Regions from separate parts of the Homo sapiens genome. Here all the other regions are linked to region 1. Evidence: promoter capture Hi-C in human tissues and cell types (Jung and others, 2019). All regions are on one chromosome and are shown on one strand. Each heading gives the region's core, a stretch centred on a gene start or on the middle of the fragment in contact. The rest is flanking DNA. Distances are from core to core; before and after follow the strand shown.

Region 1 (2,744 bases), core at 209-2,708:
TAGAAACCATGGATGCTGGTTTATGTGAAAGTTTTTGTTTTCTTTCAAGTCTCTGGTTGGAAACATCACATGGTTGGTTGCTGTTGCTGTTTACTGCCACAGCCTGTTCAAGTCTATTCTCGGAGAGTTTTCTTCATATAGGAGTTGGTACTAATCCAAGTGTAAAATCCGGAGAAATGTGTGCACAGCTTTCTGTGTGGATTCTTAGCTAAGGTTTGAAAATGGTCTGCTTTGAGCTCATCTGACCAGAAGATCTGACTGCTGTCAGGCAAAGAAAAGGGTCTGTCAGGAAAGGACTGGGCACCCCAAGTGGAATACGGAAAGAGAAGGGCTGTGCCTCCTTGCAGAAAAGAGCACAGCTGGTGAAGCTGCCTTCACATCGTCCAAAGTTTCCAGTTCTGGAAAGTTCCAGTTGTAAGAGTGAAATCAATGCCAAGAGGCAGGTCAGTGGAATGAGAGGCACTGAGAAACTAGCCACTGTGGGTGGAAGGGGAAGGAGATTTGGTTTTGACAAGTCCGTACTCAGGTCTTCAGTAAGGAGTTCTGAAGTCAGGGTGAAGCCTTTGTTTATTCTAGAGGAGGCGGAGTTTGGGGTCTGGGAAAGAAGATAACTTCTCAGAAAGTGAAAAAAAGCTCATGTAGAGGATGCTGGGCAAAATAATGGGAAGGAATAAATCAGCATTGTAGAGAATGTGGTTGGATCATAAAATCCCAGGCTATAGAGATTATGTGCTCAAAGCCTCTGCATTTTATGTGAACACACACAAACCAAATGTCGACCAGATGCACAAAAATGTGCATACATGGAGCAGCCAACCACCAATAGTAACCAGCATTTCACTTCTCTTTGCATCTCAGTTGGCTGTACCTGGAAGGGTCTAGACTTTGCCTCCTTCTCGTTCTAGCATTCTGACACTGTGTGCAGTGTAATAGAAAACGCGGTTTGGGAGCTAGGTTTGCCCAACAATAGATATTCTGGGGTGATTTTCATCCTTTGCATTTGTCATTACGATGTTTTGTGTGCTTGTGCAAATACAGGACGGTTCCTGAAATGTGTCTCTGAGCGTTCTTAACTGTGTGTAAGGTAAGCGAGGAAAGTGTCTAAGACAGAGGCCAAGAACACCTGTCACAGGGTACCCGCCTAGAGTGTCTGTACCGCATCCTTTCTGCTACACTGTTTGCACACACACAAAAGGGCCGAGGAGCCAGGGTTGGTGTTGGATATGCCCAGTACGCGTGCTGGGTGTTGGAAGGATGGGGCCGGCGGTAACAAGAATCGATATATATTTACCGCGGGGGCGGGGGTGGGGGTGCGCGGAGGCTGCAGGGCGGGGCAGCGCTAATGAGAGCAAGCCCGGCTTGTGGTTGGTTCTGGAGTCTGGTACCCACAGAGGAGCAGGCAGGGAGGGAGGGGATGCAAGCGGGAGGATAAAGCGATGAAGTGTGCTGCGTTACCGCGCATCAGGCGCTGTTGTTGGAGCCGGAACACCGTGCGACTCTGACCGAACCGGCCCCCTCCTCGCGCACACACTCGCCGAGCCGCGCGCGCCCCTCCGCCGTGACAGTGGCCGTGGCCTCCGCTCTCTCGGGGCACCCGGCAGCCAGAGCGCAGCGAGAGCGGGCGGTCGCCAGGGTCCCCTCCCCAGCCAGTCCCAGGCGCCCGGTGCACTATGCGGGGCACGTGCGCCCCCCAGCTCTAATCTGCGCGCTGACAGGAGCATGATCTGTGCCCAGGCCAGGGCTGCCAAGGTAAGCGGGCGTAGCGCGGGGACACTGTCTGCCGCCCCTTCCCCCCCGCCCTTCTCTGGGCGGCTTCCCCGCCGCACGCGAGGCCCCGGCAGCGCCCTCCCTTCTCGGGGCCGAGATCCACCCTCCTCCCCACCCTCTCGCTTCTCCCGCGAGGTTCAATTGTCAGCCTGGGTCGCGCCGCCGCCCGGTCCGGGCCGGCATCCCCGGGTGGCGACCCCGGCTTGGGTACTGCAGGCGCACCCGGCCCTCCTGCGGGGTACGGAGAGAAACAAAGAAGCCCCCAAGCGGGTTCGCAGCGCCTCCCCCGCCCCTCAGCGCCCTCCCAGTGGCGAGGAGGTGTCAGGGGAGGGGGCGGAGAGACCTACGTAATCCCCCTTCCCAGCCCACACCCACCCCTTGTGAACCAAAGCTCTGGATTTGCGCTTCGCCTTGGGCTCGCTTTTGAACAATTGTGTCCCATGCAATGCCCGTGGTTAGCCCAGAGAGCGCCCAGAGCCTCCGCACGGGCTCGCCGGTGCTCGCTCGAGGGGCGCGTGGCCAGGTCCGGCCCTTGCTCCCATGGACGGGTGCAGGAGGGGAGGAGGCGCTGTGTGGGTGCTCCCCCAGCGCCTCCCTGTTACCGGCCGGCTGCGCCGCTCAGCCGGGCCTGCCACCTGAGTTTTAGCGGGAGCAGTCATGTCGCCTACCGTATTGCGACTTGCAGACAGGCAGGGAGGGAGCTGCCGGGGCGGGGAGGGGGGGGGAATGCGTCCGGTCCATTTTTGGCTGGAGGTGCGCTTCCTGCTACCCCCACGTTCCCGGGCGGTGACAATGCAGCAAAATCCGAGGGCTCAAACAATGTGGCCCCTCCATCCCCGGCTCCAGGGCATTCTGATTGCTCTGCCGCTTTGACGTCCCGGCCACTTGGCTGATTTTCAGAGCCATGATGCGCGGTGTCTCTGTCTTGCACACAGAGGCTGGGCACCATAACTTCTTCCCTGCCGAATTTCAGCGCG
Region 2 (2,700 bases), core at 59-2,558, 68 kb after region 1:
TTTTTTATGGAGCATGATACCTGATTCATATTCACCAAGCACTGAAAATAATATTGTCTAGAGAAAAAAGCCTTGGAGAATATCAACTACTTTCTTAGAAGTGCCAGGCCCTTCACAAGTAACACCGAGGAAAAAGAAAGCATTTTCTCCAGAATAATTCATCTCCTTTCCTCCGCAGTGAGAAAACATCAAAGTTGTTGACACTCAAAAGGCACAGGTTCTTGCTTTCCGCAGAAAATAATAAATGCAAAATAGCCAAACCAAGATGCTGGAGAGAGTGGCTGACAGCAGCACCCAAGGGCTCCAACTTGAATCGAGCTGTATTATTTGTGCGGCATCAAGGTGAAGCTGAAGTCTACAGCATTGAGAGCAAAGGAGACTGTAATATTAATAGAAGCCCCTTACTCCCAAGTCTGAGAGTTCCAAGTGTGGTAAAAATGGCAACCTTTGCTTGAATTATGCCATGCTTCAGTAGAAGTTCTTTGTGCTCAAGAGCTAGGTGTGGTACTAAAATTGAATGGCTTTATATTTTACTGGTACCTGAACGTCTTAACATGGCTATGTTCACCCATTAAAAGAAATACCATTGGTTATTTGGGAGAATTGTATATTTGCTAAGTTTGTTGTTGTTGTTGTTGTTGTTGTTGTCGTTTTTGCTGAGACAGCAAATACATCTAAATGCAAGGTTTATACTTTTTAGTTTTAAGAACAAATGACTACAAAGAAGTGTTTTAAATATATTTAGTATTGCTTATTGTCTGTATTAAATACTGCAGCATAGAATATGACTGCCTTAATTTATACCTATGGAAAGTTAGATAACATCCAAATTTTCCCAATAGTAGCCCATACCTCAGTGTTATATAAAAGAGCCTAAGGGAGAGTTCATTTTTGAAAACATGATTGAGATTTATTTATCACCATGTAAATCGACCCTGAAAGGTGCATTTACTAGCGCAGTAATTTTTATAGGTAAAATGAATGAAGGTTCAATTTGACCAGGGATGTTATACAGGAACCTTTGCTTTATCTGTGGAGGGTAAAATAATCAGACATCTCCAGCAACCTTAGATCTGACACCCTGATCCTGTGGCCCCCAAATCAGTAGAGGAGTTTCACAACTGCACTTGCCAGTTTACGTTATCTGCCCTTAGCAGAGTTGGTAACATTCCCTTTTATGCAAGATGCACTTTGCAGAGCCTAAAAGAACAAAAGATGGGGACATCACCAACTTATAGCAGAGGTTATGTGACTGTTTGAGCCTGCTGGTAATGAATGTTTGCCCAGGATTACTTTCACTGCACTGTGGCTCCTGGGACAAGCTGTGTAGGTAGAGTCCTCTAGCTCCCACTCCTTTTAATGGTTGGAGGGTGCACAAAAAACTTCAGGATTTTGAGTAATCAAATTGACTTATATTTTTATTGCTTTCTAAGTTTTATTTTATTATTTTATTTTTTTATTTGTATTTTTATTTTTTTTGAGATGGAGTCTTGCTCTGTCGCCCAGGCTGGAGTGCAGTGGTGCGATCTCGGCTCACTGCAAGCTCCACCCACTGGGTTCACGCCATTCTCCTGCCTCAGCCTCCTGAGTAGCTGGGACTACAGGTGCCCGCCACCACGCCTGGCTAATTTTTTGTATTTTTAGTAGAGACGGGGTTTCACCGTGTTAGCCAGGATGGTCTCGACCTCCTGACCTCGTGATCCACCCGCCTTGGCCTCCCAAAGTGCTGGGATTACGGGCGTGAGCCACCGCGCCTGGCCAGTTTTATTTTATTTTTAATCGACACATAATAATTATACATGTTTATGAAGTACAATGTGATGTCTCAGTACATGTGCACATTGTTTAATGAACAAATCAGGGTAATTAGCAAATCCATCACCTCAAACATATATAATTTCTTTGTAGCAAGAATATTTAGAATCCTCTCTTGTAACTATTTTGAAATATGCAATACATTATTGCTAACCATAGTCACCCTACTGTGCAATAGAATAGCTGAACTTATTCCTCCTATCTAACTGTAACTTTGTAACACATTGGCCGACCTCTCCTCATTCCTCTCTCTCCCCTAACCTCCTCAGCCTGTGATAACCACTATTCTACTCTCTTCTTCTATGAGATCAACTTTTTAAGATTCCACATATGAGGGAGTTCATGTGGTATTTGTCTTTCTGTGCCTGGCTTATTTCACTTAACATAATGTCCTCCAGGTTCATCCATGTTGTGGCAAATGACACCATTTCATTCTTTTTTATGGCTGAATAGTATTTCATTGTGTATATATACCATACTTTATCCATTCATGTCTTGATGGATACTTAGGTTGTTTCCATGGCTTGGCTGTTGTGAATACTGCTGCAATAAATAAGGGAGTGCTGATCTCTTGGACGTATTGATTTCATTTCCTTTGGATAAATATTCAGCAGTGGGATTGCTGGATCATATAGTAGTTCTATTTTAAATTTTTTGAGGAACCTCAACACTGTTTTCCATAATGGCTGTACAAATTTACACTTCCACCAACATTGCATAAGGGTTTCTTTTTCTCCACACCCCACCAGCACTTGTTTTCTTTTATCTTTTTGATAATAGCCATTCTAACTGGAGTGAGACAGTATCTCATTTTGATTTGCATTTCTCTGATGATTGGTGATGTTGAGTATTTTTTTACATACTTGTTGACTATTTGTATTCTTT
Region 3 (2,700 bases), core at 147-2,646, 110 kb before region 1:
AGATGTGTGATACCTCCTTTCACTTGAATATTTAGAGGTCGTGTAGGGTTATTAATAGGACTGATTTCCATATTGTTGTGTCTCAGGAAATAGGGAGGCCCAAGAAGAGGGAGAGAGATGGAGGAATTGCCAACCTGTGGAGGAGTCAAACACACACATTTATTGAATAAGTTTTTCATCTTATATGGGTGTGGTTCATAGCATTCCATTCCAAAACAATTACCATAGTAACATCAAAGATCACTGACTACAGATCATCATAACAGATATAATAATAATGAAAAATTTGAATATTTTGAGCATTACCAAAATGTGACACAGAGACACAAAGTGAGCTCACACTGTTGGAAAAATGGCACCAATAGACTTGCTGAACACAGGGTTGCCACAAACCTTCATTTGGTAAAAAAAGGCAATATCTGCATAGTGCAATAAAGTGAAGCATGCCTGTGCTTGCTCTCTTTTTCAATTTGATAAGAAACTCCCACCAGGAGTTTATCAATTTCATTCATCTTTTAAAAATGAATTTTTGTTCATTAATAAAAATAAAAATAAGACAAATCAGTCTATGGAATTAGAAGTCAGGCTAGTAGTTTCATTGTGAGAGTCATAGTATCAGGCAGGGATGAGGGTGGGGCACCAGGAATGCTTGGGGTGCTCTTTTTCTTGATCTGGATGTTGCTTACAAAAATGTTCACTTTGTGAAAATTTGTTGAGCTATATGCTAAGTGATGTGTGACTTTTTTAGTACGTATGATACACTTCAGTAAAAATCAATTTGAAAGACAACTGTTGGGTTGTCAATTCTATTTGTATATTTCCTTTCTATTTCATTTATTTTTGTTCTTGTCTTTATTATTCACTTTCTTCTACTTTGGTATTTTATTGTTATTTTTCTGATTTATTGAGATGGATATTTATGCTTTTTAGCATTGAAAGCTAAAATACTTCTTTTTATACACAGCTTTAGGTATATCTCACAAGTTTTGATATGGAATATTTCATTATCATTTAGCTTGAAATATTTTCTAATTTCCATTTTTCTTTTTCATTTCAATTTAATTTTAATTTTGGTTTAACTTTAATTTCTTACTGCTTTTCTTTTCACCTTTAGATGACTTATAAACATTTTCTTAACTTTAAAACATAAGATGTTTTATGAACTATATTTCTCTCTTTATTGCATTGTGGTCAGAGAAGATCTTGTATGCTTTTAATCTTTTGTAATTGGTAGAGACTTGCTTAATGATTCAGTATATGATCAATATTTATAAGTGGTCCATTTACTTTTGAAAATAGTGCTCATTCTGCAGCTGTTGGATGCAGCATTCTGTATATGTCTTTTAGGTCTAATTTGTAATTATGTTACTGAAACCTAAATCCTTACTGATATTTTGCCTATTTGTTTTATTATTTGCTACTAATTGTGTATTTATCCTTATATTTGTCAAATTTTTTATTGTATGTAAGACTATGCTATTAAATGTATACACATTTAGAATTATTGTATCATCTGTGGTAATGAAATATTTTACAATTTTGATGTGTCTCTTCCCTTACTTAGTAATTTTTGTTGCCTTAAAATCCACTTTAATATTAATATTGCTATTTCAACTTTTTTTTTTTTTTGGTGTTTGTATGATACATTTTTTAAATTCCGCTATTATTTAATTAATTGAGACAGGGTCTCACTCTGTTGCCCAAGCTGGAGTGCAGTGGCACAATCAAGGCTCACTGCAGCCTCAATCTCTCAGGCTCAAGCGATCCTCCTTCCTCAGCCTTCCCAGTGGCTGAGACTACAGGCATGCACCACCATGCCCAGCTAATTTTTAATTTTTTTCTCCCAATCTTGCCCAGGTTGGTCTTGAACTCCTTCACTCAAGCAATCCTCCTGCCTTGGCTTCCCAAAGTGTCAATCCTTTTGTTTTCAATCTTTCTGTATCTTTGTTTAAGATAAGTCTTTCTTAAATTGCATATAGGTTTTTATCAGTCTTATAAGTTTTTTATTTTGAGTTATAATTCTTCTGTTTTGTAATTCTATTGAATACTATATGTGTATATTTTAATATGAAGTTATAATTTTACTACATAATTTCTAATTTTTTATTCTATACTCTCTTTTCTTAACTTTTTTGAATTAAAAAAATTATTCTTTTTTTGGCAGTTTAGAAGATATGTACTCTTTAATATTTTTCAGCAGTTTATTCCTGAGATCACAGCATGCATCTGACTCACCAGAGTTTGACGTTACTTTGCACTTCTACTTTCTTCCTGGGCAATGCAAGGATATTGGAACATTTTAATTAAGTTTAATCACTTCCTGTTATATAATTTTAGTTCTAACAACAACATAAACCTTATAAAAATAATATACAGTCAATATTCATTTTGATTAATCTATATTTCATTTTTATTCTTTCCTGTTTATCAAACTTTTTATCTGGGATAAGGTCTCTTCTGCTTGAAATATATCCTATAGTTTTCCTTGACGATCAGGTCTGCTAGTGAATTACTTCAGGTTTTGTTTGCTGGAAAATATATTTAATTCACCATTTTTTTCTAGAATATATTTGCTGGGAACTAGAAGTCAGAACACTGAAGATATTATGCCATTGATTTTTGGCTTTTTTTTTTTTGAGACAATGTCACTCTATTGCCCGGCTGGAATGCAGTGGTGCAATCACAGCTCACTGCAGCATC

Evidence for each region. Contacts are between HindIII fragments. The study calls those that stand out against the background at their distance.
Region 2: a contact is called between a fragment that was not itself captured here and the fragment with the promoter of HECW1 in region 1, in 3 of the 25 tissues and cell types used here (dorsolateral prefrontal cortex, mesendoderm cells and thymus).
Region 3: a fragment that was not itself captured here is called in contact with the fragment with the promoter of HECW1 in region 1 in 2 of the 25 tissues and cell types used here (IMR-90 fibroblasts and small bowel).

What each region holds. Positions count from the first base shown.
Region 1 is chr7:43,111,189-43,113,932 of GRCh38, forward strand. HECW1 (HECT, C2 and WW domain containing E3 ubiquitin protein ligase 1) reads left to right here and starts at 1,459. Exons shown (of 30, transcript NM_015052.5): 1 at 1,459-1,749. The HindIII fragment of the contact is 15,211 bases long and covers 1-2,744 here.
Region 2 is chr7:43,178,935-43,181,634 of GRCh38, forward strand. The region is part of intron 2 of HECW1 (HECT, C2 and WW domain containing E3 ubiquitin protein ligase 1); the gene reads left to right. Among named protein-coding and RNA genes, the nearest start is that of MIR3943, 29 kb to the left of the region's middle. The HindIII fragment of the contact is 5,574 bases long and covers 1-2,700 here.
Region 3 is chr7:42,999,984-43,002,683 of GRCh38, forward strand. No RefSeq gene overlaps it. Among named protein-coding and RNA genes, the nearest start is that of MRPL32, 69 kb to the left of the region's middle. The HindIII fragment of the contact is 4,487 bases long and covers 1-2,700 here.